Linked DNA regions of Homo sapiens: all the other regions are linked to region 3. Evidence: promoter capture Hi-C in human tissues and cell types (Jung and others, 2019). All regions are on one chromosome and are shown on one strand. The core of a region is centred on a gene start or on the middle of the fragment in contact, and the rest is flanking DNA. Distances in the headings are between cores, read along the strand shown.

The links. The method cuts DNA at HindIII sites, captures the fragments that hold promoters and counts their contacts. A contact is called where the count stands out against the background at its distance.
Region 1: a contact is called between a fragment that was not itself captured here and the fragment with the promoter of CXCR6 in region 3, in 2 of the 25 tissues and cell types used here (adrenal gland and aorta).
Region 2: a fragment that was not itself captured here is called in contact with the fragment with the promoter of CXCR6 in region 3 in 2 of the 25 tissues and cell types used here (hippocampus and liver).

What each region holds. Positions count from the first base shown.
Region 1 is chr3:45,817,260-45,821,811 of GRCh38, forward strand. No RefSeq gene overlaps it. Among named protein-coding and RNA genes, the nearest start is that of LZTFL1, 23 kb to the right of the region's middle. RefSeq lists an enhancer at 533-1,732. The HindIII fragment of the contact is 5,505 bases long and covers 1-4,552 here.
Region 2 is chr3:45,865,511-45,869,724 of GRCh38, forward strand. It overlaps LOC124909374 (a long non-coding RNA gene), which reads left to right. Exons shown (of 2, transcript XR_007095900.1): 2 at 926-1,061. It also overlaps a transcript of LZTFL1 not described here. Among named protein-coding and RNA genes, the nearest start is that of CCR9, 19 kb to the right of the region's middle. The HindIII fragment of the contact is 6,101 bases long and covers 1-4,214 here.
Region 3 is chr3:45,941,930-45,946,410 of GRCh38, forward strand. It overlaps CXCR6 (C-X-C motif chemokine receptor 6), which reads left to right and starts at 1,535. Exons shown (of 2, transcript NM_006564.2): 1 at 1,535-1,611. The region is part of intron 14 of FYCO1 (FYVE and coiled-coil domain autophagy adaptor 1); the gene reads right to left. The HindIII fragment of the contact is 14,146 bases long and covers 1-4,481 here.

The DNA of each region.
Region 1 (4,552 bases), core at 1,095-3,594, 120 kb before region 3:
GGAGTTTTACCATGTTGACCAGGCTGGTCTTGAACTCCTGACTTCAGGTAATTTGCCCATCTTGGCCTCCCAAAGTGCTGGGATTACAGGCGTGAGCTACTGTGCCCAGCCTGCAAGCATTATTCTTATTGGTGAAATATTTAAAGTGTTCTCCCTGAGACTGGGCATGAAGCAAAGATGCTATCTTTTCTATTCAACATTGTACTAGAGGTCCTAGCCAGTGCAATAAGGCAAGAGAAATAAATAAAAGGCTCACAATCTCATTTATTCAAAATTATTTACCTGGAAACCCCAACTATTTGAAACAAAGCTGGTAATCTGGAAGACTAACATTCTCTTATAAAGCAATCTAAAAAGGTCTTGGAGCAGCAAAGATGCCACAAAGCCTATGCTCTTCACACACAGAGTCCCTTAAGCCCTCATCCTGAAGCTACGTACAATCCTAATAAATGGCTCCATTTATTTTCCAAGCCCACCTTGGAAAATGGCAAGAGATTGGCAAACCAAACAAAACCAATGTTAGCTACCAGCCTAAAAGGAAAGAACACGCATAAACCATAAAACGTAGATGCAGCAGTTTAAAAAAACAGTGCTTATAAATCACTTATTAAAAGGGCAAACAGCTCCACACCTCAGCAGCCCTGAGGGCACTGCAGTGCAGGACAATAATTGACACTTGTAATAATGACTTTGAGTCATCAGGAAAAGATAAGATTATGCTTATGACTCACTGCTTAAGAAGGCAGGAAATTATATTTTGTATTAAAGGTTTTTAATGTCTGATTTTAAAGAAGTTTGGGTTATTTATATGGAGAAATTTTAGTGTTAGGAAATTACTTTATAGGTAATATCTGATTTCTTTTACAACCTAACCACTAAGGTTTTTCATGGCTTAAGCAGTACTTGGCCAGGAAACAGAAGTCAATTTCACAAGTGTTTGGATTGAGCACCTGTGATACTTGAGTCATAATGACGGGCTCTGCTCCAGGCACTCAGTCCAGGGATGTTCTTTTTTTTTTCAGAGTTGTTACTATTTAAAGGCAGCTGTGGCTTGGCCACGTGAGCATACTGGGCTGAAAATGGTAAGCAGGATTTGTAATTTCTTCTAAGTCGAGTCGACCCTTTGATGAGTAAGTATTGAAAGCATGCAAATATTCCTTGCATTTGCTCTTCTATCTTCTTAGTTCACTGTGGGATGAGATGCTATTGATGTCACACCCAATTCCCCTTATCCCAGCCTGGAATGTGGCCTGCAGAAGGTTCTCTGTGTCTCTTCACCTGAAGCCCTTTCTTGGCTACGGAAGCATGTTCAGCCTAGGTCCAACAACAAGGAGTTAACATCTCAGGAGTAATCCTCATCTTGATAAATTAAGGCCTGGTGGATACATTCCCAGCTTCCTCACGTCTCAGTGGGATTGAGCGTGGTGGTCCACAGTGCTAACCTGCTCATTAACACACATTTTATCTCCTTTCTTCCCTTTCCTACCTCATGCCTCCGTACCCTCACCCCACTTTCTGGGATCCCCTCCCCACTTCAACCAAGATCCCTGCCTCAGGGTTTTGCTTTTGGGGGAGCTGAAATAAAACATCTGGTGCCAGAAATGGCCCTAGAAAGTGGCCTCAGGATGAGACACTGGACTTGATGCCAGCCAGATGACAACAGGATCCCACTGCTAGTAGTAAGTGTAGTGGTGATAAACCCTGTCACACTACTGGGTTAGTTACCAACACTCTCACCTGGGTATGGATTGGAATGAAAGAAGAGAAGACAGTCTCTGATTAGCCAACTATTACCTGAAGAGATGCCCTGACAACTAGAAAGCCCCCAGGTCTCTATTTAAAAGAACCCACATCTCCTATGTGCAGAAGCCAGAATGTACTGAGAATCCGGCCCATGATTGGATTACAGCAGTGATGCAGATTCAAAGGAGACCAAATTCACATGCCCGGAAAGTCTCCTTTGCTTAAGTCAGGGCCCTGATTGGGAAGGAATGTGACTCTGAGATATGAGGGGCCCATTTGGGCAAATGCCCTCAACGACCTTGATATCCCAGATTCTTCTGAACCCTTGGGTCTAGAAGAAGTGGCTCACTCCCCCTTGCTAGAGGAGGGTAGCCTCCTATCACCTGGAAGCCATTCCAAGGCCTCTCTTGAAAGGAGACTGGCAAGATAACCTTGGTCTTCCTCAGGATCGGTCCCTACTTCCACTCATTACTTCTAAACCAATAAATAGGGCTGAATATCAGCATGCCCTATGCAGAGAAATATTATCCTGCTTTGAGAAGAAATGGATTAGTCCCCCAAAAGAACAGAACCTGGACTGGCAGAAACTGGAAGAACATGTATGGTTATGGATCTTGAGGATGCTGGCCTAGTGGGAAGTAGAAAAGAAGTTGGATAAGGAAGAGTTTATTGACATAGACTGTCTTCTGTGACTCAGGATTTGGCATGTTTGTAAGAACACATGGAGCCAGTCCTAATACACTGCTGCAATGGGCCTTGGTGCTTGAGGATGATGGTATGCCAAAAACGAGGTGGAGATTCCACAACTGCTTAACAAGAGTGCTGAGGAGGGTTCAGAAGGCTCAGAGGGATGACATGCTAGAATGGATATAAGGCGAGAGAGCCCACCCATGGGCAGGGGTATTTCCTTCACTGAAACAATAAAGACTGCATTGGTAAGGGGACATTAACATTGTTGAGAAGCTCAGTGGTGGCTGTCTTCTGTTGGCTAGAACTGACAACAGAAGATGCTGGCACATAACTGGGCCTCCTATGATAGGAAGGATTCCAGAACAAAAAACTAATGGCTGCACTCAGACATTAGAGGAATAAAATGAATACAGTAACCTAATGGGCCGTAAGGCCAGAAGAACAACCAGGGAGCCAAGGACCAGTGGCTAATAGATTACGGCGCTCCTAGAGGTGAGGTGAATGGGCAGTCAATGAAGTTACTGTTATAAAACCAAGCCAACCAACCAAACAGCTGATGAGTAAAAGACTGATGTCAGCCACCACAGTGGAAAATCCTGATCTCTCATAGTTACCAGACCTAGTCAGTTCTCAGTTCCAGAGCCCATGGATTGAAGGAGAGTCTGGGTCTCCTGAGGAGGAGCCCTGCAGCACTATAGCAATCTTAAATAATACACACTGTCTCAAATCTTTCCCAAAGAGCCCCATGGCCATTTTTCAGAGTAACTGTATGCTGAGAAAGCAGAATATACACATCTTTCAAGAGCTACTCAACATAGGGCCTGAGTGACATACCCAGGGGATCTAAAGCACCACCACAGCCCTCTTGTTAGAGTGGGACATATAAGATAGGCAATCTATAAAGTTCTGACCCAAGGCTATCTCAGGGCAGATCCAGTAGGCCTGTGGGTCAATCCCCTGATCTCCCTTGTTTCTGAGAGGATAAATGGGATGAGTGCACTTAACTGAGAGACCCCAAAATTGGTTTCTTGACCTGAGGGATAAGAGCCATAATGGTAGAAAAGGCTTATTTAATGCTCCAAAATGCTCTCTCCATCCCACCCCCTCCCCACTCCTGGTCAAAATCAGGGGCAACATCCCAGGAGTATTGACAGTGATCCCCACAATATCCCATTGAATGGTTCCTGCAAAGCAAAACAGAGCAAAAGTGGAAGATGACAGTGGACTAACATAAACCAAGAAGTAGCTCCAATAGCAGCTGCTGTGCTGGATGTAGCATCCCTTCGAGTCAGCACTTGATATGAGGCTGGAGATTTGGTTAATGAATTCTTTTAAATCCCCTTCAGAAAAGAGAATCAAGAACAGGTTGAATTCACCTGGGTCAGATAACACAGTGTACACTCAAAGTTTTGCTCCAGGAGCATATAAACCCTCCTGCTCTGTTACAAAACTGTCCAAAGAAGTCCTTGATCATCGTGACATTCTGTAGAACATCATCCTGGTCCAATACTTTGATGACAAAATGTTAACTGGACCTAGTGAACAGGAATGAACTGGCAAATAATCTGAGTGTTCCTTATGACACATGCACCAGAGAGAAGGAGGTAATTCCTACAAAGATTCAGAGGTCAGAGGTCCAACAATCTAGGGAATACTGGGACATCCTGCCAAGTCAAGAGCCAGTTATTGCATTTTGTACCTTCTACTACTAAGAGAGGTAAGCACTAGGTAGTATTATCTGGATTCTGAAGTCAGCATGTACAACACTTAGGAATATTGCTCTGACCATTTCTTGGGTCACTCAGAAGGCTGCAAGTTTTGAGTACACAGTTAGGAGGGCTTTGTACCTCTCTATGGTTCAGGCTGTAGTGTAGGGGTACCTCTTGGTGATATGTGGGGGTAACAATAAATGGGAAATTTCACAAATACAGCAGGACAGGGGCAAAATGATCAGGGGCTCAGACATCTAAGAAAGGAAAGTCTAGGTCATCTCATGAGGCCAGCCATGCTGACCAGCAAAAGTGCTGGTTGAGGGTGAGGGGAATCTAGAATAAGTAGAAGAGGGAGATGATAAATGTTAATTATGGCTTCAGGACCAATATGCAACAGAGAGGACTAC
Region 2 (4,214 bases), core at 602-3,101, 76 kb before region 3:
CACACACCAAACTTTTAATGATAAATATGTATGACGAACTAGGAAAGGGATGGAATAAAAGGGAACGTTCACTTTTCTTACTCTATATTTCTGAAGTTTTTGGATTTTCTTTTTATAACAGGAGGTAAACATTTAGTTCTTATGTAATTTTAAGAGAGGGAACGATGAATTCATACACTTCTGGTAGAAATGTAAAAATGATACAGTCATTTGAAAACAGTTTGGCAGTTCCTCAAAAAGTTAAACATAGAGTTATCATATGACCCAGCCATTTCACTCCTGAGTGTTTACCCAAGAGAGAAAGAAATATATGTTCCTGCAAATACTTGAGCGTTTATAACAGCGTTGTCTGTAATAACCGAAAATCAGAGGCAACCAAATGTCTACAAACCAATGAATGGATAACAAACTGGTATAGGCCATGTAATCGAATACTATTCCACAATAATAGGAAACAACTATTGGTACACATGACAACGTGAATGCATCTCAAAATGATGCTGAGTGAAAGAAGCCAGACAAAAGAGTATTTGCTATGTATTACAATTTATATAAAATTCTAGAAATGCAAACCAAACTATAGTGACAGAAAGCAGATCGGTGGTTGAATGTGGCGAGGGGTGGTGGCGTGGTGGGAGGAAGGAAGAACAAATGGGTCCAAGGACACTTTTGGGGTGATGGATATGTTCACCACCTTCATTGTGCTAATGATTGATCCGGTGTGTACTACAGCAAGATTTATCCAATTGCATACTTTAAACATGTAGTTTATAGTGCGCTAATCATAACTCAATGAATCTACAAAAAAGTAATACATGCTTAATATAGAACATTTTGAAATAATGTAAAAATGAAGACGAAAAATTTAAAAGCCCCTACACTTTCAAAAAGAAAACCGTTAACATTTTGGGGCTTTTTCTTCCAGGAAAGTTTCACGTCCACCATACAGTCAGCTCTACAAGGGCAAGCCTGCCTGATTCACCAGCCGTATTCACAGAACTATGCTGGAAAAGCAATTGTGGGATAACTAAGTTTGGATCAATAAATGAATGTGTAAAAGAGCCTACCCTCTTCATTTCATAGTATATAATGAGGGCTTTTTCATGTCACTAAAAGTTCTTTGAAAACATACCATGGCTTCACACCCTTCCACTGCCTGGATCTACAGTAATTGATTTTAGACTTGGGTTGTTTAGAGTCTTTCAATATAACCAATAGTGCTGTAATATTCAGCTTTGTGTATACCACAGAAGACTTGTATTCACCATAGAGGCTATCCCACAACAATTAATGGATCCAATTAAGTAGGTTAACAATTTGGTTTTACATTGTGTAGCTAAAAATAAGATAGTTGCGGCCAGGTGAAGTGGCTCACGCCTGTAATCCCAGCACTTTGGGAGGCTGAGGCAGGCGGATCACTTGAGGTCAGGAGTTCGAGACCAGCCTGGGCAACATAGTGAAACCCCATCTTTACTAAAAATACAAAAATTAGCTGGGCATGGTGGCGCATGCCTGTAATCCCAGCTACTTAGGCGGCTGAGGCAGGAGAATCGCTTGAACCCAGGAGGCTGAGGTTGCAGTGAGCCGAGATCATGCCACTACACTCCAGCCTGGGTGACAGAGCAAGACTCAATCTCAAAAAAAAAAAAAAAAAAAAAAAACCCAAAAGATAGTTACATTTTTCATCTTTTAAATTAATTTGTTAATTGCCTTCTCTTTCACTCAGTTTCCCCTTTGGTAAATGGGAGTAATAATAATATCTTCCTCTCAAGGTGTTGTTAAAATTTTAAAATATGGTGTAAAAACTGCTTATGACAATGCTGGCAGAGAGTAAACTTGTAATGATGGGCACTTCCGGGCCATTCTTGTGCCAGAACTGTCCTTGGCTCCTGCCAAATTCCCGCAATTCAAGTTTTTTTTTTCTTGCACCTGCTAGTCTGAACACATCCATCAACCTTGCTTAAAGAATCTTTGGGGTGAATTGGAATTAAAAGGCAAGGCTGGAAGTTTATATTGTTACTATTTAGCACTTCTTTAGAAAACTCATCTTAGGCTGGGCACCGTGGCTCATGCCTGTAATCCCAGCACTTTGGGAGGAGGAAGTGAGAGGATTCCTTGAGCCCAGGAATTCAAGACCAGCCTGGGCAACATAGTGAGACCTCATCTCTACAAAATATCAAAAAATTAGCTGGGCACAGTGGTGCATGCCTGTAGTCCCAGCTACTTGGGAGGCTGATGTGGGAGGATCACTTGAGCCTGGGAGGTCAAGGCTGCAGTGAGCTGTGATCGCACCACTGCACTCTAGCCTGGGTGACAGAGCAAGACCCTGTCTCAAAACAACAACGACAACGAACAAGAAAACCTATATTAGCCAAAGATAAATGTCAGCCCCATTGGAATGGGTTCCATGTTCTGTCTCTGGATAGCTCTGGTGATGAGAAGGATTCAAGGGCAGCAATTTTCTTTCAAGAAGATTTTCCATTAGGTATATCTCTTAATGCTATATATATATAATGGAAAATCCTCTTGAAAGAAAATTGCTGCCCTTGAATCCTTCTCATCACCAGAGCTATCCAGAGTGCAGCACACCAGCATGGCACATGTATACATATGTAACAAACCTGCACGTTGTGCACATGTACCCTAGAACTTAAAGTATAATAAAAATATATATATATATAAATTTTTAAAAAGTATTTTAATTTTTTTGCAAAAAAAAAAAGAGGATTTTCCCCAGCTTTCTACTGAACCTGTGCAAGTGAAACTTGATTGAAACCACTCGCTTCGTAGAGTTGTGGTAGCAAACCATAAATCATTCTGGCTTCCCTGAGAAGTTTTTCAAACCTTAGAGAGCCAGATGACTCTTAACAAAGCTGTTTCATTAAACAGTTTTAGAGTGGATTTTTAGCCAAGTTCTGGTTCTAGATTCTCAGCATTTAGCAGAAATGTTTAGTGAGTTACTCACATACACACATGTAAAGCTTTTGTTCACTTAGGTCAACAGAGAGAGAAATGAATATGTAAATATGTATTGAGTCAATATTTGCAAATATAGCTTTGTTTAAATAATAGCCTCTCATTTTATAGTTAAGAAAAGTGAGGCTTAACAAGATTGAGTGACTTGCTCAAATTCTCAGTCAGTGGTAGGGGGGGTAAACCCAACTCTCTCTGATTCCAAAGCAAGTATATCATCTACATGATAGAAAATCATAATAACAGCCGATATTTTCCCAACATATTACAGTTTCCAAGCCTCTCTGATACATTGTCTCATCAAGCCCTTATGGTCCTTCTCTGTTTAGAAGGCTACCATGGGGCAGGCCTTCTCCCCACACCTCCCAAACGTGGATATAAGACTCTCCCTTGACATCCAAATGTGGTCCTGGCCCAGCATCATGGGCATTGCCTGAGAGCTTGTTAGAAATGCAGACTCTCAGGCCCCACCCCAGACCTACTGACTCAGAATCTGTATTTTAATAAGATCCCCACTTTGAAGAGCATTCCCACAAAGTCAGACAAGAAATGCACACATGATGACCACAGCAGAGAGAAGGCAGAGTGTCCCTCAGGCTAGCAGGTCTTGTGTGACACTGACTGAAGAGCTAAAGACAGTGCATGTGCATGGGCAGGAAGGGATGGGCAGAGCACGAGATCACAAAGATCACCACTGGCATTGCTCAGGGATGGAGGACCATGGATAAAGGCCATTGGCAAGGTCAGTCCTGCTGTGCAAGGAGTGCATGGGCAACCAAGTCTACTGATGCTGTATGTTTGTTATGGGAAACCCTTGGGATGCTAGACTAGGCAGAATGTAATCAATTTTTATTTTTCATTTCATGAAGACTTTCCTAGAAGCAGGAAAAAGAAGACGCCATGCCTTCCAGTCATGCTTGCTTAAAGCCATGCTTGCTTGCTCTTCTATATTTCATTTAGAAAACACGGTTAACGTTTCAATGAAGTAGTGGTTGGATATTACCCTGGGCCCCCAAGTTCTGCCCTCCCTAGCCTGGGATGGGACACAGCTATAAGAAGGAGCATACTTCCTCTGGTCCATCTCTAACTTTTAAGACAACGCAGCCAACTCTGAGCCTACACCCCCTTGTGTCATTGATGTACCCCTCCTTTGTGGAAGGTGCCTGGAAGCAGTGTGGGTAATGCCTGGAGATGGCTGGGCATGGCCTTGGTAGGGAATGATTCGTCTGTGTCTTTTTTGA
Region 3 (4,481 bases), core at 285-2,784:
AGTTCTCTTTCAGGAAGACAGGTGCATATTTGGCTCAGTCTGTTCCTTTATTCATTTGTCCACCATTCCCTACATCCATCTGTCCATCGGTATGTAGTCTATGCGGCCTCATGGTTCATGCCCATAAGGAACACCTCACTCATTTGTACCAGTTTGGTAGAAAGGACAGTCTGAACGAATTCATTCAAAAAGGCCTGCAAACCTACTAGAGGTCTTCAGATCTTTTATCAGGGCCCCCTGGCACAGCTCCATACTCAGAGCAGGGCAGGAAGCACTGGCTTTGCAGCCTGACAGTCCTGGGTGACTGCCAGGGATGTGTGTTCTTGGGCAAGTGGGCTAATCTCTCTAATCTTCTGTTTGCCTATCTGTACGTGACTAGGATTAGATGGCTGTACATAGAAGCATCCAGCATAGGGCCAGGCTTGCGGTAGAAATGAGTGTTAGTCTCTGGATCCTGAGGCTGCTCCTGGTCCCTGCTCCCAATGCTTGACATTTGCCCTTAGGAAGAGCCACATGAGAAGGTTTGCCTAGCAGGTGGGAGAGAGCAACAGCATTGGAGAGAAGCAGCCTGAATGGGAGTGCAGAGCCAGAGAAGGCAGGCCAGGCACCTCCACAAGAAGGCAGCTGCTTCTGGGAAAGCAGACATCGAGTCCATGCCTCTCCCTAGTACCCTCTCCACTACAAGGCACTGGGGCATGTGACCCAGGCTGACATGCCTCCAATTCCTGCCTTCCAGCGTTATTTCCCAGAAGGGTCAGTAATGTTAGATCATGGAGACTGACAACTAGAACTGTACTGAGATCAAAGTAGTCAACATCTGGGGAATTCCAGGAGTACAGAGGGCAGCCCAAGGAAACCAGATGATTCCAGCCAGCCTACGCAGGGTGGGTGGGCACTGCCTGCTGAGTGCCTGAGTGGTGTGGGCTTAGGAGGTGGGGCTGCACCAGGCCCTCTGGCAGACCCATCATCATGCTGTTGATTGGTCTGGTAATGACAGATACCTGAGTGTGTATCTTCGATTTTCCAGTTTCTAGCTGTGTGCACCAGGGCTTGTTATTTTGGCTATGGTCCTCAGTGTTCTCATCTATAAAGGCAGGATAATATCCACTGCAGGGCTGCTATGGGGCTTAACAGCTATCACATATGCTGGAGCTGCATATGCACGCAGAACCCAGCCCATACCATGGACTCAGCATTGGCCCAGACCCTAACTGTTCCAAAAAGATGTCTGACTAGTGAATTAAGTAATTTTAAGGTACAAATGCCACCATCTTCGGTGGATGGCCAGAGCCAAACCTCCTTATTGTTCCCCTTTAGTTTACGAATAAAGCTCGTCAGGCCCTGACAGAAGAATCAGCCCCAAAGCAGAATGAAGGGAGTGTGGGGTATCAGTCACCCATCCATCTCTGACCCACGCGTTACACAGGGGCGGGTTGGTCATATGGATTCTGATCTGAAGGACGGGAGTAGGGGGTGGGTCTCTTATAGTAACCAGCTGAGGGCTCTTAAAAAATGTTCAGCGGAAACATGAACCACATCACAGAAGTAGAGGCAGACCTTGCTTCATGAGCAAGCTCATCTCTGGAACAAACTGGCAAAGCATCTCTGCTGGTGAGTCATTTGTTTTACTCTTTATATTGAAAAGAAGACAGGGAGGACTAACCCCAGGTATTGTTGGTATTCTCAGATTCCTGTCTGTAGTAGGGTACAGTGCAAAATGCCAGGCTATGGAGCTCAGCTGCTCTTCGTTCAAATTCCATCACTGCCATTTGCTGCTGTGTGGGTTAAACTGGAGAAACATGAAAACTACTGAACATGTTTCCAGGCACACAGTTAGTGCTTGCAGGCTGATGGTACTGCTAGTAATGGCATAGTCAGACCCACCCAGGGAGATAAGGAGAATCTAGTTATTGTCTATATTTGCTCAATGAATAATCTCTGTTTTCATTTCTTTTGCATAAGACAGGCTGTTTTATCAGATTATCATTTATGTTCTTTTTTCAATATAAATCAACATACTACTGTAGAAACTTTGAAAACTATTTTAAAAAAAGGAAGAAATAAGTCACCCATAATTCCACCAGCTGGAGGCCAACTGTTAATAAAATGTGATCATTTTTTCCAGGTTTCTAAAAGTACGGTCAGTTAAAATCACATAGTTTATCATGAACTCTTATGTGAGGGCCCACAGAATACATGGCAGAAGGATTCAAGGGGTTCATGGACTCCCAGAATTGTAGGGGTGTTTGTGTGTGTGCGTGTGTGTCTGTGTGTGTGTGTGTGTGTGTATATATATATACATTATTTCTGAGAAAAGGTCTGCAGTTTTTAGGAGATTCTCAAAGGAGTTTATGGTCAAAAAAGGTTAAGAATCACAATTTTATATCCTTTTGACATCTATTTGTTGTAATAGTAATAGTTAATACTTATTTTGCATATTTACTTTGTGTTTACACTGTTCTTAGCAATTTAACTGTATTGCATTTTCCAAAATCAGTAAAAATACTTCCTAAACATTTAAGTATATTCTATTTTATGTATGAATTGTAATTTGCTTCATCATTATCAGACTTTTACACTACTTCCAAAGTTGTAGATTTTTTTTTTAATTTTCAGAAAACAAAATAGGATTTTAATTATAGAGGATAAAGAAATGAATGTTTTTAGTTCGCCTAGAAGGGAAAGTAATTTTTCATACTCTATTTGCACAGCACTGTCCAGGCCCAATCTGTTTACCAATTATTATACATCAAAGTTTACCAATTATTACACATGAATTTGCACAGGTCCTTTGAGGAAATGTGTAATGGCAGCATAAGGGACCAGCAAAAGCTGGAACAGGAAGATACCAAAAAAAGGCGAGAGCGAGTCAAGCAATAATGGGGAGCTGAACATTATTCTTAAGAGCAAAGCCACCTGTTTCATATTTTAAATGATGAAAAAATATGTTTTTGCCCATGTGAATCAATAACACATACACATCATCTGACCTACTTAATACAGTGCCCCAGAGAGCTTGTGGGGGGCAGGATGTCTACTGGCTGACCTATCACCCTTAGAGATCTAACAATTGTGACGTAAGGGCAAGGATTTTTATTAAGCAGTCTTAGCCCAAAGGCAGCATCCTTCCTTGCTAGAGAGAAAGGGCACTTTGGTCCCTGGAAAGACAGAGGCAAGCAGCAGCATCGGAGACACTGCTCCCAGTCAGGACTCAAAGTCAGCGACAGAAGTGTTTCTGAGTGGATTAGGAAAGGTAACCTCATCGTTTATATGCACTTGTCTGGTCAGGCAATATTTTGACTTTGCTGGCAGAGATTCTGTCCAAACACCTGCTCTTCTTCATACATCTTCTAGAGGTGCTGGCCAGACATGGCTCCAGGTCACTGGAAATGAGCTGCTGCATGTTGAGTATCTGCAGTCCTGTAGCAAGGGCAGACTTGGCACTCATGGGCTGATGTTGCCGCAGCTGCCCCTGCTCCCACACCACAGGTTACATGATCCCTTGTCCTGTCCATGGTCTTTGGCAGGGTCACAGGGCAGAGGGAAGGGTCAGAGAGAAGTGACATCTTGAAGGGCTGGTGCCCTGGGTAAGAAAGGTTGCCCATCTGGCATCCCATTTCAATTGGGTTTTCTGCTTGTTAAATGAGGCCCCTAAGTCCTAACCTGCCAATCACAGGAGCTAAGGCAAGGTTCCGCTTTGGGGAAATCTACCTTTTAAGAGACTTCTTGTTCAGAAGTCTTCAGGAAATGAGGCTCTGATGGTAGAATGCCATAAACTGTGTTAACTGATGAAGGGGAAAGTTTAGTTGGGAAGTGAGGAGAACCACCCAATGCTTTAACCATGAAGCCAGCTCAGCCAAAGTGCTGGGCAGTCGTGGGCTTTTCTATGCTTTGTTTCCCCATTAGTAGCCTTTGAAAATCTATGCAATTGAGGGGAAGTAAAGGCAGGAAGGACTACCTACCCAGGCAGAGCAGTCTTGCCATCCCCAAACACCTGTGGTCTCCAGGAGTCTCCTTGATAGGAGAGCCCCCTGGTAGGGGCACTTGCTTTAGCTTTCACAATTTATTAGGAAATGGGGCTCAGGATGGGTGGGCAACTGTGGTGAGGCAGGGGGAGATGAAAACAGGCATGTTCCATTGATGAGCTCATATTATCAGTGGGCTCAACCATCCATCATCAGTGTTGCTCTTCCAAACAGCACTGTGCCCACCTGGCAGCAAAGCGACTTTTGGTTTCAAAATAATTGAGCACAGGATTTTATGGAATGTGCTTAGGGGTCAGTTATGAGTTGTCTCCCAGATGGGTGAGATCCTGAGAATTTTCAGGCTAATGGAGAGTCCTCATCCTGTCTGAGCAATTTCCCCTCAGAATTGGTTATCTTCAATATACTGGACTGTGCTGTTTCTACACATCCCAGTGGGTGGGTTTAGAAGATGACTATTTGCCCCCTAAATGTGGTCAATGGGATAGCAGGAAGACA